Regions from separate parts of the Homo sapiens genome. Here region 1 is linked to region 2. The links are contacts of gene promoters, found by promoter capture Hi-C in blood cells and fetal thymus (Javierre and others, 2016). All regions are on one chromosome and are shown on one strand. Each heading gives the region's core, a stretch centred on a gene start or on the middle of the fragment in contact. The rest is flanking DNA. Distances are from core to core; before and after follow the strand shown.

Evidence for each region. The method cuts DNA at HindIII sites, captures the fragments that hold promoters and counts their contacts. A CHiCAGO score of 5 or more calls a contact.
Region 1: the fragment with the promoter of PPP1R3F here is called in contact with the fragment with the promoter of SYP-AS1 in region 2 in 9 of 17 cell types (fetal thymus, neutrophils, naive CD8 T cells and 6 more); the score reaches 11.3 in fetal thymus.

Annotation. Positions count from the first base shown.
Region 1 is chrX:49,268,034-49,274,932 of GRCh38, reverse strand. It overlaps PPP1R3F (protein phosphatase 1 regulatory subunit 3F), which reads right to left and starts at 5,140. Exons shown (of 4, transcript NM_033215.5): 1 at 4,060-5,140. The coding sequence starts at 5,063. RefSeq lists a silencer at 4,865-5,104 and enhancers at 5,805-5,854, 5,552-6,051. The HindIII fragment of the contact is 7,823 bases long and covers 1,027-6,899 here.
Region 2 is chrX:49,196,716-49,203,259 of GRCh38, reverse strand. SYP-AS1 (SYP antisense RNA 1) reads right to left here and starts at 4,421. Exons shown (of 2, transcript NR_046649.1): 1 at 4,036-4,421; 2 at 806-1,088. SYP (synaptophysin) reads left to right here and starts at 3,067. Exons shown (of 7, transcript NM_003179.3): 1 at 3,067-3,109; 2 at 4,227-4,292; 3 at 5,421-5,545. The coding sequence starts at 3,074. RefSeq lists silencers at 2,875-3,114, 3,185-3,234. The HindIII fragment of the contact is 12,908 bases long and covers 1-6,544 here.

The DNA of each region.
Region 1 (6,899 bases), core at 3,891-6,390, 71 kb before region 2:
CAGAGCACAGGAGGGAGAAGTGGCCTGAGCAAGAAGGGACTCCTCGTCATCTGTAACACAGGGGAGGGAAATCAGCGTGCAGACTTGGGGGCCACAAGTTATAGGGAGTTCCATTCTTATGGCTTCTGTTTTGTTTTTTGAAGCAGGAGAGAAAGTCTGAAGGTAAAGAACATTTGAAAGAGTCACTTCAGAGGAGAAACGAGTGGATCAAAAAAATATAGTAGAACTGCTAGGCAGGGTGGCCGATGACCCCTCGACTGGTGGCGATGTTCATCTGCTCTGCCATGGGACATTCTCTAACAAAGCTTAGCACGTGCTGGGCTGATGAGTGCTATGAAAAAGCCAGGGGCCCGAGGACACTGGGGTGGACAGGCTCCCCTGGGGAAGTCCTCTTAGAACTGAGGGATCAACACTGGAGGAGACTGCAAGGGGTACGGGATAAATGTTCCTGGTGAAGGAAACAGCAGGGGCAAAGGCCCTGCAGCAGAAAGGAGCGAGGCCCTTTGGAGTAACAGAAAGACCATGGTGACAGGAGCTCAGAAAGACCACTGGTGTTAAGACTATGAGCCAGTGGAGGCCAGATTGGGGAATGGGATGGGAGGGTGCTTGAAGACCATGGTGAGGCTCTCTTGGTCTTTACTTTTAAGAAGAATAGGACACTTCCAAAGGGTAGTGTCAAGTGCCAAGGAAGATCAGGAGGGCTTTTCCCCACACCAGCCCTAGGACTTTGGACTCTGGGAGCCTCAGTTTGCTCATCCAGGAAAGAGAAATTTAAAACCCTCTACTTCACAGGGAATGTTGTCGGAATTAAACCAGACCTTGCATGAAAATATAGTACTCAGTGAAGTGCCTGGCGAAGAGCAGGGGCTCAGCCAGGTCTCATACAACAAATCCTCTGTACTCCATCCCACAAGCCCTGTGACATCTTAGGACCACTCTGCATCTCTTTCCCTGCTGGAACCTAGCACTGTGCCCAGCACACAGTAGGCAGTCAATAAATGCTTGTCGATGAATCATCTCTAAGCTTTAGAGTTACCAAATGCCTGGTCCAGCAACCCAGGGAAAGCAGCCATTTGGGTTTCTGAACTCTATCCTGATGGCTACCACGGACTTCTCCCATGCCCTCACCTGATGTGGCTGTGCTCAGTGCACAGAGGGCCTACAGCCAACATTTCCTCAACAGGAAGCCCTCTGATAGGGCTCCCACAGGTAAGGGATATACCCTGAGATCCTCCGCCATTTCCCAAGAGGGCTAGGTCACAAAGGGTGGCTAGTCTTCAACAGTGCTGCAAGTCACTGGCAGCACACAGGTTCTAAAACAATAATATGTTGAAATGTACTCACCAAGAAAGCCACCGACCTACAAAGAAACCCTTATCGCTGATCTTGCAATGAGCACCAACCTCCCCTTTGCAAGAGCTGAGATCGAAAGATAAAGAAGCTATCAAAAAGCCATCTGCCCACTTAAAATAATATCACAAGTCATGTTAGGAACCACAGACCTGGGGCCAGATACCAAAACAATTGTCTGAACAGGCTGCTTCAATTTCTCCTTAAAACCGCCCATGTATGTTAAAAGAAAAACACCCTCTCCACCCACCTTGGCCCTGCAAGGTTTTGATTTCTCTGTTCTCTGCCTTTCACACTCTTTAAAATGACCAAACTCCTTTACCCAAACTGTCGCATCTTACAGACAGGGTTCCCATGACAGCCGGCGGGGATGACAGCTTGGGAAAGTGATAGAAATGAAGGTAGCTCTGGGGTACTGGACCTGCTCAGTATCTTCATCTGGGTGGTGGCTACACAAGTGCATACATATGTACAAATCCACTGGGCTATACACAGAATATCAGTACACTTTATGTAGGTATACCTCGATAAAGCAAAAAAAAAAAAAAAGGTAAAAGGAAAGCACGACATGCTGGGAACACCAAGAGTGAAATCCAGAATTTGCCCTGAATCATGCCACGCTTTCTAGAGGACCAGTTTAAAAAAAAAAAATAGAAAAAAATAAATGTCCCTAGCATTTCTTCCCTGGCCCTGTCACTCACTAGCTGAGAGGCTTTGAGCAAGCTGGCTCATCTCTCTGAGCTACCTGTCTCCCCTCTACTAAATGGGGATAATCATAGCACCTACACAACACAGCATGCACAGCAGGCCTCACGGAGAGAATGGATCTGATGTTCATAGCACAGAAATCAGTAAATGCTGGCCAGTTATCTTTTGCAGTTACCACCATGCTTCAGTTACCTTGCCCATGTTTGCTGCATTCAATCCAACCATGCAAAGTGACTGTCATTTCCCTTAGCAGAGAAGGAAACGGAGGCAAGGCCACACAGCTGATGGGCGGAGCCGAATTTAGGAGAGGAATCCAGGAAACTGTAGGTGTGGCTCCCTAAATACTGACACTAGCTAACACCTGTATGATACTACTTTGAGCCAGACTCGGTTCTGAGCACCTTTACTCTTATCCCGTAAAGTAGATGCTATAATTCTGTTTTACAGGTGAGGGTCCTGAGGCATGGTGTAGTTAAATGCGTTGGCCAAGGTCACAAGGCCAGTAAGTGGCAGCGCCAGGATTTGAACCCAGGCAATCTATGCCAGAATCCACACTCTTAATGCTGTAAGAAAAACCATGCTGCCTGCCCCCTTTAAATGAAGTCTCAGATTATGGTGGGGCTCACAGGTGGGTGAGTGGGTACCTGCCTGCCTGCTCAGTTACCCAGGCACATCTGCCCACCAGACCGGAGCTAGACCTTTCTGAACCACTCACAGCCTAAGGCCTTACCAGAACCAGCAGAACCCACAAATGTCTTACTGCAGCCAGGGGCTTCTGACCAAGCGTATACATACAAGGTCCAAAAAGCATTTTCCCATTTCCATTCCCAGTCCTCCCAGGAACAGGGAAATGTATACATTTTAGGGAGAATCTAGTGATCCTGGGCCAGACTTAGGTGACCGCAAAAAGAATCAGGACTAGCTGCTGCCCTTAAAGAACTCATAGCTTGATAGAGGAAACCTAGGGAAATCTTCTGGGGCCCCCTGGGGTATAACTGATTATTTCTCCCTGTCCCTAAATGATCACAGGTGGTGTGGCAAAAAAACAAGGGACAAAAACTTCAAGTCCAGTACCCATCTGGTTCTGTCTCTCTGCTAGAGCCACTGCTTTCTTGTGAGAGCATGGGCTCAGCCCCTCGCCTCCACAGGACTCAAAAGTAGATTACAGCGTTAACAGTAGAGTGCACAGGCTTCAAGGTCAGGCATGGGTGAACTGGAAGAGCCAGGTGCCATCACTGCCTCAACCAGTTTCTCCACCTCTGGAATCCTGGTTTCCTGCTCTGTCAGAAAGAGAATCTGCTCTACCCCCCACTGGCAAAGCCCTTGGTCCACACTATGTCATTGCAGTTCTCTCCACTCCAGCACACTGCTGATCATTCACACCAAGCTCATTTCCACCCCAGGACCTTTGCACTTGCTGTTTCCTCTACCTAGAACACCCTTGTTCCATATATGCACATAACTGTTATTCATCATCCAGGACTTAGTTTAAATGAAACCTCCTCAGAAAAGTCCTCCCTGTTCCTTTTCCTACAAACTCTCCCCCACCTCCCCACCGTATCTGCATAACTCTTCTTTATCATCATTCGGGACTCACCTCCTCAAAGGCCCTCCCTTTAACAGCATGTCTGACACAGTCATTCCCTCCCAATCTATCCCCTTACTCCCTTCAGCAGCTAACTTTGTCCCTATTTATCCTATCTGCTTGCTTGCTTGTTTTTTCAAACTGTCTCCCATAGGAGCCTGTATGAATCCTTGAGGGTAGGGTAGATGTCTGTCTTGTTCAGGGCTTTACAGTGGAACTCAATAAATGGAGGAATAAAACCCCAGTTAAAACAGTGCCTAGCACGTGTTTGACCTCCATCACTCTTTGACTGACTGACTCAATGCACCCTCCTCCCTGTCCTGGAGAGCAGGCCTGAGGGGTTCCTGGGCCGGAATGCTTGTCCTCCATCCCAGACACAGCCCTGCGTTGGCGGAGGTGGCGCTGGCTGACATTACCTGCGCCTCACCGGCTTCATGCAGCTCTTCAGCTGCCTGGCCTCAGCCTCCACGGGACCCTGGCACTCGGGCTGTGGCTCCAGCTGCGGCAGCTGCTGCTGCTGGGGCAGCCCTTCGGCATCAGTGGGTGTGGGAGCGGGTGCGATCCGGAGCAGGACTGTGTAGTTGCGGCCGTGGTTGTTGGCCCAGAAAGTGCCCTCAGGGGTCTCATAGCGCACCACGAAGTCGAGGCGCGCCCCATCGCCCGCGCCCTCAGCAAAGGGCAGCTGGAAGGCAAAGCGGTCGGTGCGGCCGCCGTCGTCGGGCGAGGAGGCGGATGCCTGGCCGGGACCCAGGCCGAGCCCCGGATCCAGGATGGGATCTCCTGCTCCTGTTCCTCCCGCTCCTGCCCACGGCGGGCTGCGCGGGACGTAGCGCGCTGGGTGGTCGCAAAAGGAAGCCCAGCCGTCGTGTGAGGCCCGCACGTGCACCGCCTTCTCGAAGGAGCGGTTCAGCACGCGTACCAACCCGCGCAGCACCGGCGGGCGGCCCCCAGGCACCCACACCCCGGCACCCCCGGGGACCGCTCCGGGAGGCGGCAGCAGCGCCTCCAGCTCCACCATGACGCGCCCCAAGCGCTCCAGACGGCCCGGCGCGGGCGGCAGCGAAAATGTGGGGACCAGGTAAAACCCCCCGCCAGCGGGGACGGGGCACAGCGGTGAGGGCTCGGGGCAAGCCTCCTCTTCCTCCTCCCCTTCATCCCCATCCTCGCCATCGTCGTCCTCGTCGGCCCCGCCGCCGCCGCCGCCATCTTGCCCGGCCGCCGCCGCCATCTTGCCCGCCCCGGGCCCGCCCCACGGCCGGTAGCGGCGCAACTGCGCCAGCGGCAGCCCCAAGGCCTCGTCGGCGAACAGCACCCTCCGCGGGGCCACCGCCGCCTCGACCGAGGTGCGGGGCTCACCCGCGGCCGGCGAGGGGGGCGCGGAATGCCGCAGCGGGGGCTCCACAGGGGCCGTACGCGCCATATCGGCGGCGGCGGCGGCACCGACGGCACCGGCGGCGGGACCGGCGGGGGCAGGGCCTGAAGGGGCGGGCAGCCAATGGGAAGGCCAGCGCGGAGGGGTACGGCTCACGGGGGCATAGGCGGTGAGATGAAGACAAGTATTGCAGAGGGCCAATGGGCAGCCATGCACGGATGACGTACAGCGAATTGAGAGCCGGAGAAGCACGCAGCCAATGGGGATGCCCGGGAGTGGGCGGTGTAGGGGGCGGGATGATCGAGGAATCAATGGAGAGGCCGGAATGGGGGTGGTGCGAAATCCATGATGAAGAAAACAGAAGCAGACAGCTAATGCGGAAGTCTGAGCGAGAGAGGCATGTGGGCGGTGGGAAAAGTGGAATGGCTACAGGCGATGAGGGCAGCCGGGAACGAACGCAGAGGCCCAAAAAGTGGGAGATCCCGCGGGTTGCGTAGGCGGTGGAACGGTAGCTAGAGAGAGAGAACAGCCAATGGAGAGCCACGCGTGGGATGACGACAATGGCTGCAGCGAGCCAATGGGGAGGCTTGTGAGCGTGCACTGCGGCTTCGAAGGGGTGGTGCCAAGGTGGAGCTAGCCAATACGAAGGCTAAAAGGAGACCAAGAGGCGGGTGTGTAGGGAGCCGAGCCAATGGAGGTGGAGGCTGAAGGCGGGAGCGAGGACGAGAGCTGGCGGATAGCCAATGAGGGAGCCAGGGTGAAGGCGTAGAGACCTCAAAGGACAGTACTAGTATGGGATGAGCCAATGCCGAGGCTAGATAGTGCAGCGGGACGGAGGGAGGACTTGGAGGCAAGATGGGGAAAAAAGCAGAGCCGACGGGGGCAGTGTAGGTGGTGTGAAGGGAGGCATGAGTAGCCAATAAGGAGGCTGGAGAGGAGGACGCTGTGTAGACAGAGTCTGAGGTATTGGGTGGCCGGACAGCAGAACCATAGAACGCAGGCAGCCATTAGGAAAAATGTGCTTCTCAGGGATGGGGTTACCCTCTCCCTAACCCTCCGTGACTCCCCATTGCCCCAGGAATACCCAGAGCCCCTGAAGGCCTAGACCACACCTTGGTGTGTGAACTAGGAAAGTGAAAATGACTGTCCTGTTGCAGTTAGTTACTTACTGGGTCCTCCCTGCCCAACTACAACCTTTTCTTGAGCAGTGCCACAAGCCAAGAATGCCCCTGATTGTTAGCCGCAAGCACTCTCCAGGACTTGATACTATTGTTGAATGAATGGCCGAATAGGAAATTTAACTTTCTGAAGGATTCACTTTTTTAAATTTCAGCTCAGCAAACACTGACCTGACTGTGTGCTACCAGAAGTTGATTGGGCATATGGGTAGCTTCTGACTAATGGAATCACAATCAAAGCCCTGTCCTTCTTGCCCAACCTGACACTCCACACCCCACAGGGGCCTCACCTCCCTTCTTTCTGTCCCCCCATCTCTGCTTCTACTGTTCCCTCTCCCAAGAGTGCTGTTCCTTCTGCTGCTTCCATCTAGTAAACTCCTTTCGCTCTCCCTTTGGGGTCTCACCTTCTGTGGGAACTCAACTGCAGCTTTTGTCCGCTGAACACATCCATTCATACATTCCTTCTCCATCCTGGGAAGATTTACTGAACACCTACTGAGTGCCAGGTTCTGAGCATGCTGTTATCTCATTAGAACCTCACAGCATCCTAGGAGGGAGGTGATCCTTCCAGCAGCCCCTCTCCCCAGGTCTCCATGTTCAGGATGTCCATGAGTTAGAAATGAATATGTTCAGCTGCAAGTAACAGAAAAATCATAAAATAATGGGGGCTTAAGCAAGACAGAACTTTATTTTTTTCTCACCTAAA
Region 2 (6,544 bases), core at 3,172-5,671:
ACCTCGTCTCTACAAAAATATTTAAAAATTAGCTGGGCGTGGTGTCTCACGCCTGTGGTCCCAGCTACATAGGAGGCTGAGGCAGGAGGATCGCTTGAGCCCAGGAGGTCGAGGCTGCAGTGAGCCATATTCATGCCACTGGACTCCAGCCTGGGCAACACAGGGAAACCCTGTCTCAAAAAAAAGATATTCATTCAGATGGTTCAAAATTCAAAAGGTAGGCCAGATGCAGTGGCTCACACCTGTAATCCCAGCACTTTGGGAGGCCAAGTGGACAGTGGATCACTTAAGGTCAGGAGTTCACAACCAGCCTGGCCAACATGGCAAAACCCCATCTCTACTAAAAAAAAAAAAAAAAAAAAAAAAAATAGCCGGACGTGGTGGTTTGTGCTTGTAATCCCAGCTACTCAGGAGGCAGAGGTAGGAGAATCGTTTGAACCCAGGAGGCGGAGGTTGCAGTGAACTGAGATTGCACCACTGCACTCCAGCCTGGGCAACAGAGTGAGACTCTGTCTCAAAAACAAAACAAAACAAAACTACTGAGATGCTGTTTTTCATCTTTCAGGGTGGTGAGTATCAAAAAGTTTGATAATGTTCCATACTGGCAGGTTGGCCAGAAACAAGCGTTCTCATAAATCGCTTGTGGAAGTTTCATTGGTATAACCTGTGTAGAAGGCAACTGGGCAAAATCTAGAAAAATAAATTCATTTACTGTTTTGTTCAGCTTCATACTTCTAGGAATTTCTTACAGGTAGACTCATATATGTGCTAAAAGGTGTATGTATAAGATGATACACTACCAGGCTGTTTATTTTTTTATTTTATTTGAGATGGAGTCTCAAAAGGTACAAAGGGGTATAAAGTGAAAAGTTTCCCTACCCTCTGGAAGCAAATAGTATTATCAGGTATCTTTCACAGACATACAAGATGGTGTGCTGAAAAAAAAAAGATGGTGTACTGATAAGTTAGCACAGTGGCTAAGAGTAACAGGTGCTGGAGCCAGACTTCCTGGGTTCATATCCTGGTTCTACCAATTTACCAGCTGTGTGAACTTAGGAAAATTCCTCTCCGCCTCTTAGTTTATTCAGCTGTAAAACAAAGATAGTTGTCGTACCTGTCACATAGGGTTACAGTAAGAATTTAAGTGAGTAATACAGGCAAAGTTCTCTAAAGAGTACTTGACAGAAAACAGCCACAATTTAAATGTTAGCTATTCTCTGTCTGATATAACCCTTCTCTTCTCTTTGTACACAATTACCACACAGTTTGACATCTTGCATTTTTTACTTAACTAAATATCTTGGCAATCATTCCATAGTTCCATGTTATTATAATGACAGCGGCATAGTATCAGAGTTTATTTAAACAGGCTACCAACAATGAGCACTTTGGGAGTGTCCATTCTTTATCCTATTATAAACAGCCCTGGCCTGGCCCAGTGGCTCACACCTGTAATCCCAGCACTTTGGGAGGCCGAGGCAGGCAGATCACATGAGGTCAGGAGTTCATGACCACCCTAGCCAATATGGCGAAACCCCATCTCTACTAAAACTACAAAAAAAAAAAAAAAAATTAGATGGGCGTGGTGGTGAATGCCTGTAATCTCAGCTACTCAGGGAGGGTGAGGCAGGGAGAATTGCTTGAACCCGGGAGGCGGAGGTTGCAGTAAGCGGAGATCATGCCACTGCACTCCAGCCTGGGCAACAGAGTGAGACTCCGTCTCAAAAAAAAATAAAAAATAAACAGCCCAGTCATGTATTATCTTATACATATATCTTTTAGCACATGTATGAGTCTATCTGTAAGATGAATTCCTAGAAGTATGAAGGTGAACCAAACAGTAAATGAATTTGTTATTTTTTTTTTTTAGATTTTGCCCGATTGCCTTCTACACGTTATACCAATGAAACTTCCACAGGCGATTTATGAGAACGCTTGTTTCTGGCCAACCTACCAATACGGAACGTTATCAAACTTTTTGATACTCACCACCCTGAAAGATGAAAAACAGTATCTCAGTATTTTTGTTTGCTTGTTTGTTTTTGAGATGGAGTCTCGCTCTGTTGCCCAGGCTGGAGTGCAGTGGTGCAATCTCGCCTCAGTGCAACCTCCGCCTCCTGGGTTCAAGCAATTCTCCTGCCTCAGCCTCCCAAGTGGCTGGGATTACAGGCGCCTGCCACCACAGCCAGCTAATTTTTGTATTTTTAATAGAGATGGGGTTTCACTATGTTGGCCAGGCTAGTCTCAAACTCCTGACTTCAAGTGATCCACTGTCCACTTCGGCCTCCCAAAGTGCTGGGATTACAGGCATGAGCCACTGCGCCTGGCCGAAGTTGAGCATCTTAAGCCCCAACTGTATTTTGGATTTTGCATCATAGCCATCACTGTTGACCTTGATGGGCCTAGTTTTAGTCGCAGGAAGGAGGGTTATTCCAATTAAGAGAGAGCTAAGGAATAAATAGGTAAAGTGGTAGAGTTCGAGTAGGCATTAATTTGACAAAGAGGAAGAAAGAAATAAGGGAGATGGCTAGATGGGGGCAGGAGTTTCAGGGTGTGCTTAAAATGCAGACTATGAAAAAGGAACCTGGAAGGCCTTGAACCGTGTTTAAACTGCAGGGACTCTGGGCACTGCCAGCTAGTAGCTGGCTGACCTTGTGAGAGTCACTTAAGCTCTCTGGGGAATTATTTTCCTCGTCTGTAAAAACGGCCTAATAGTCCCTACAACGTAGGACTTCTGTAAGCATTAAATGAGTGAACATGTTTAACAAACTCAGAAAAGAGCCTGGCAAAGTTGTCACACTGTAGGACCGAGCAGGGAGGTCTCCTCTCCCCGGCCCTCGACTTGTGTTTTCCCAACGCATATTCCCGCACGCTCTCACGGCTCCAGCCTCCGGGCCGGAATGGCTGCCGGTGAGACTGTGGTACAACCCGCTGTGCGCAGGCGCGTGGCGGGCAAGGAGGGGGCGCGAGGGGCGGGGCTGCAGCCGCCTGGGCTGTTCCAACGAGCGCGCGCCGCCCCCGCCGCGCCCCGCGCCGCCCTTGCTAGCCGAGCCTCCCGCCCCCTGCATTGCTGATGCTGCTGCTGGCGGACATGGACGTGGTGAATCAGGTACGCGCTCCAGCACCGTGGACAGAGCCCGCCGCCGCCCGGCTGCCTAGGCCGGGTCGCTCAGGCCAGCCGACTCTGGGAGGTGGTGGCCAGGGTCTGGCAGCGGAGACCCGGTCCCCGGCGCTGGGGATGGGGGTCTGCGGCAGGTGAAGGGGAGGAAGGGGGAGGTGGAGAAAAGGAGTGCGCTCTTTGCCGCAGCGAGGGCCGTCCTCACTGCCGCAGCGGGGGCCCCCGGAGCCCCGTTTATTACTGGCGACCGCGAGGGGAGGAATAGGGGCCTGGGGGCTGGAGTGAGGGCAAGGGACAAGGGGAGGGGAGAGTGGAAGGAAGATGGGGGGTGCTGCGGATAAGCTAGGAAATAGAGCGACAGAAGGTGTGGGGGCGGGGATGGGGGAGAGGGCTGGCACCCGCCCCTCCCAAACAGAGACTGTACCCCCATAGGCGACCACCCCTTCCCCCAGAGCACACCTAGGGGACAATCCGGTTTTACTCCTTCCAAAACCCCCAGCCTCCTCACCCCCAACACATAGCGACTGAAGCCGTGTCCCAGCCCTCCCCCACCTTAATCAGTCCAGACCCTCTCCGCCATGTCTCTCGTCTTTGCCACCTCAGAAACTCACCCCCAATCAGTCCCAACCCTTCCCCATCCCCATCACCTCAAATATCTACCGCCACCGCCGTCTAACACACCTTTACCCCTGCAGACCCTTCCCCCACCTGAGCCAAACCGACTCCTGCCCCGTTATGACTCACCTTCACCATCACAACCCCCCCACCCGAATGCACCCCACTCCATCCCCATTCTCTACCCGAACCCCTTCCCCATCCGACTCGCCTTTACGTTTCAAACCTGCTCCCCCTCCTTAACTAGTCCTGACCTCATCCCCATCTCCCTCACCCCCGACTTCCTCTGCCATCTGACTCACCATCTCTTCAGACCTTCCCACCAGTCCTTGGACCCTGGGGCTCACACCATCCCCAAGGTGTCACTTTCTCCTTCTCACCCTCTCCCCGAGGTCACATGCTCCATCCCCTGGGGTCATTGATGGGCAGCCTTGCCGCTCACCTCCCTGTACCTCCAACAACCCCACCCCTTCCCCACTGTTTCTCTCCTCAGCTGGTGGCTGGGGGTCAGTTCCGGGTGGTCAAGGAGCCCCTCGGCTTTGTGAAGGTGCTGCAATGGGTGAGTGTGGTCCGGGCTGTTGGGGCAGAGTGCAGGGAGAGAGGGAGGTCATGGGGTCCAGAAGAGCAGGGGTGGAGTAGGGGCGAGTAGCCAGGGATGAGTGCGGGGGTTGTAGGGGATGGGGGAATTGGGCTCCAGGGTGAGGTTTCAGGGGTCTGAAGCCAGAAAACAGATGAGCTGTGACGTCACATAGGGCTGAGGGTACCCCCGTTGTGAAGTGGGAGACTGTGACGTCCTACCTCCTCTCTTGAAGTGAGGGAGGGGTGGGGGAGGTGGAGCCTGTAGCAGATGCTGGGTGAGAGATGCAAAGTCAGAGAAACCCAGAGACAGTGAAGGTGACAGAGAGAATGAGGGACAGGGAATGATAAAGACAGAGATGGAAATACTGAGAAAAAAAAAAGAAATATGGAGATGAGAAGAGATACAGACATAAGAGAGAAGAGACAAACAGAAACAAAGAAAAAGGAGACACAGAAAACAGATGCAAAGAGAAACAGACGCAGGGAGAGAGGCAGGAAAACAGGGTGAGGGAGAGAGAGACACAGAGAGAAAGAGACACTCAGAAAAAAGAGAAACCAACACACAGAGGCAAGAGGGAGACAGAGAGAGAACCATCCGGAGACCGAGTGAGAGACAGGACAGAGAGACAGAGACAAACAGACCAAGAAACAGAAAGACACAGACATACAGGCATACACTTACACAGACAGAGAAAAAAGAGACAAAAAGAGACATCGACAGATCAGATAGGCAGAGGCAGAGAGGATCAGAGACACAGAGAGACAAAGAGACATCTGAGAAAGACAAAGACACATAGAGAAACAGAGATACCGAGAGAAACAGAGACACAGTGAGATACACAGAGAACAACAGAGACAAACAGAGAAGAGGGAGGTCAGCATGGAAAGGCAGAGACAGAGAGAGACACAGAGAGAGAAACAGGAAGAGACAGCCATACCCTTGTAATCAGCTTGTCCTTGGTCCCGATGAGCCCTGATTAGGGGGTGGGGGTGGGGACTGCTCCATCTGCTGCTGCCTGTGCTGGGCCCCCGATCTGTCCAGAGGAGGGCACCTCCCTCCCACATGCACACAGGTTCACTGTGGCCATCCCCATCCCTGCTGCCCAAGGTCTTCGCCATCTTCGCCTTTGCCACATGCGGCAGCTACAGTGGGGAGCTCCAGCTGAGCGTGGATTGTGCCAACAAGACCGAGAGTGACCTCAGCATCGAGGTCGAGTTCGAGTACCCCTTCAGGTGTGCTCCCACCCTGGGATACCAACAGACCTGGGAGAGGAAGGGGCAGGGTGGAACCGGCCAATACCTCCCCCCGCAAGTAGCTCCTGCCCAGCTCCCACCTCGAGGCTACATCCACTGGGATCACTGAGCACCTGCCTTGTACCTGGCACTGCTCTGGACTCTAGGACTATGTGGTGAGCAAGGCAGACATAGGCTGTGGCCCTCTGGCTCTGTTCCAGCGAAGGGGTAAGGGACAGGCAATAAACAAGATACAAAAGTAAGACAGGTGTATATACATACCTTAACCCAGTAGGTACCCAATTAATGTTAGCCAATATTATTATTTAATCCCCATTCATTCATTCTATACACATTTTTGAGAACTTATTTTATATCTGGTACTACTCAAAGTGCTGGAAGCATGATAGTAACTAAAACAGACCCAACTCCCGCCAGGCACAGTGGCTCACGCCTGTAATCCCAGCACTTTGAGAGGCCGAGGTGGGCGGATCACCTGAGGTCAGGAGTTCGAGACCAGCCTGACCAACATGGAGAAACCCCGTCTCTACTAAAAATACAAAATTAGCCAGGCGTGGTCATGCATGCCTGTAATCCCGGCTACTCAGGAGGCTGAGGCAGGAGAATCACTTGAACCTGGGAGCCGAAATCGCGCCATTGCACTCCAGCCTGGGCAACAAGAGCGAAACTCCATCTCCAAAAAAAAAAAAACCAGACCCAACTCCCTACCTTCATGGAGCCTACATTATAACAAATAAATTAACAAAGAGGATAATAGCAGACTGAGAGAAACTCGAGGAGATCCTCATGTAGGGTTTTATGGTAGAGAATAGAATAATGAGGGGTGCTGCTTAGATATAGGGAAAAATTAAACCCAATTAAACAATTCTGACATTTATTGAGCTCACACTGTGTGCCGGGCAATACACTGGGTGCTAGGTGCACAAGAATGAGCACGGCTGGCATGGGCACTACCCTCACAATGATGTTTACCTCCTG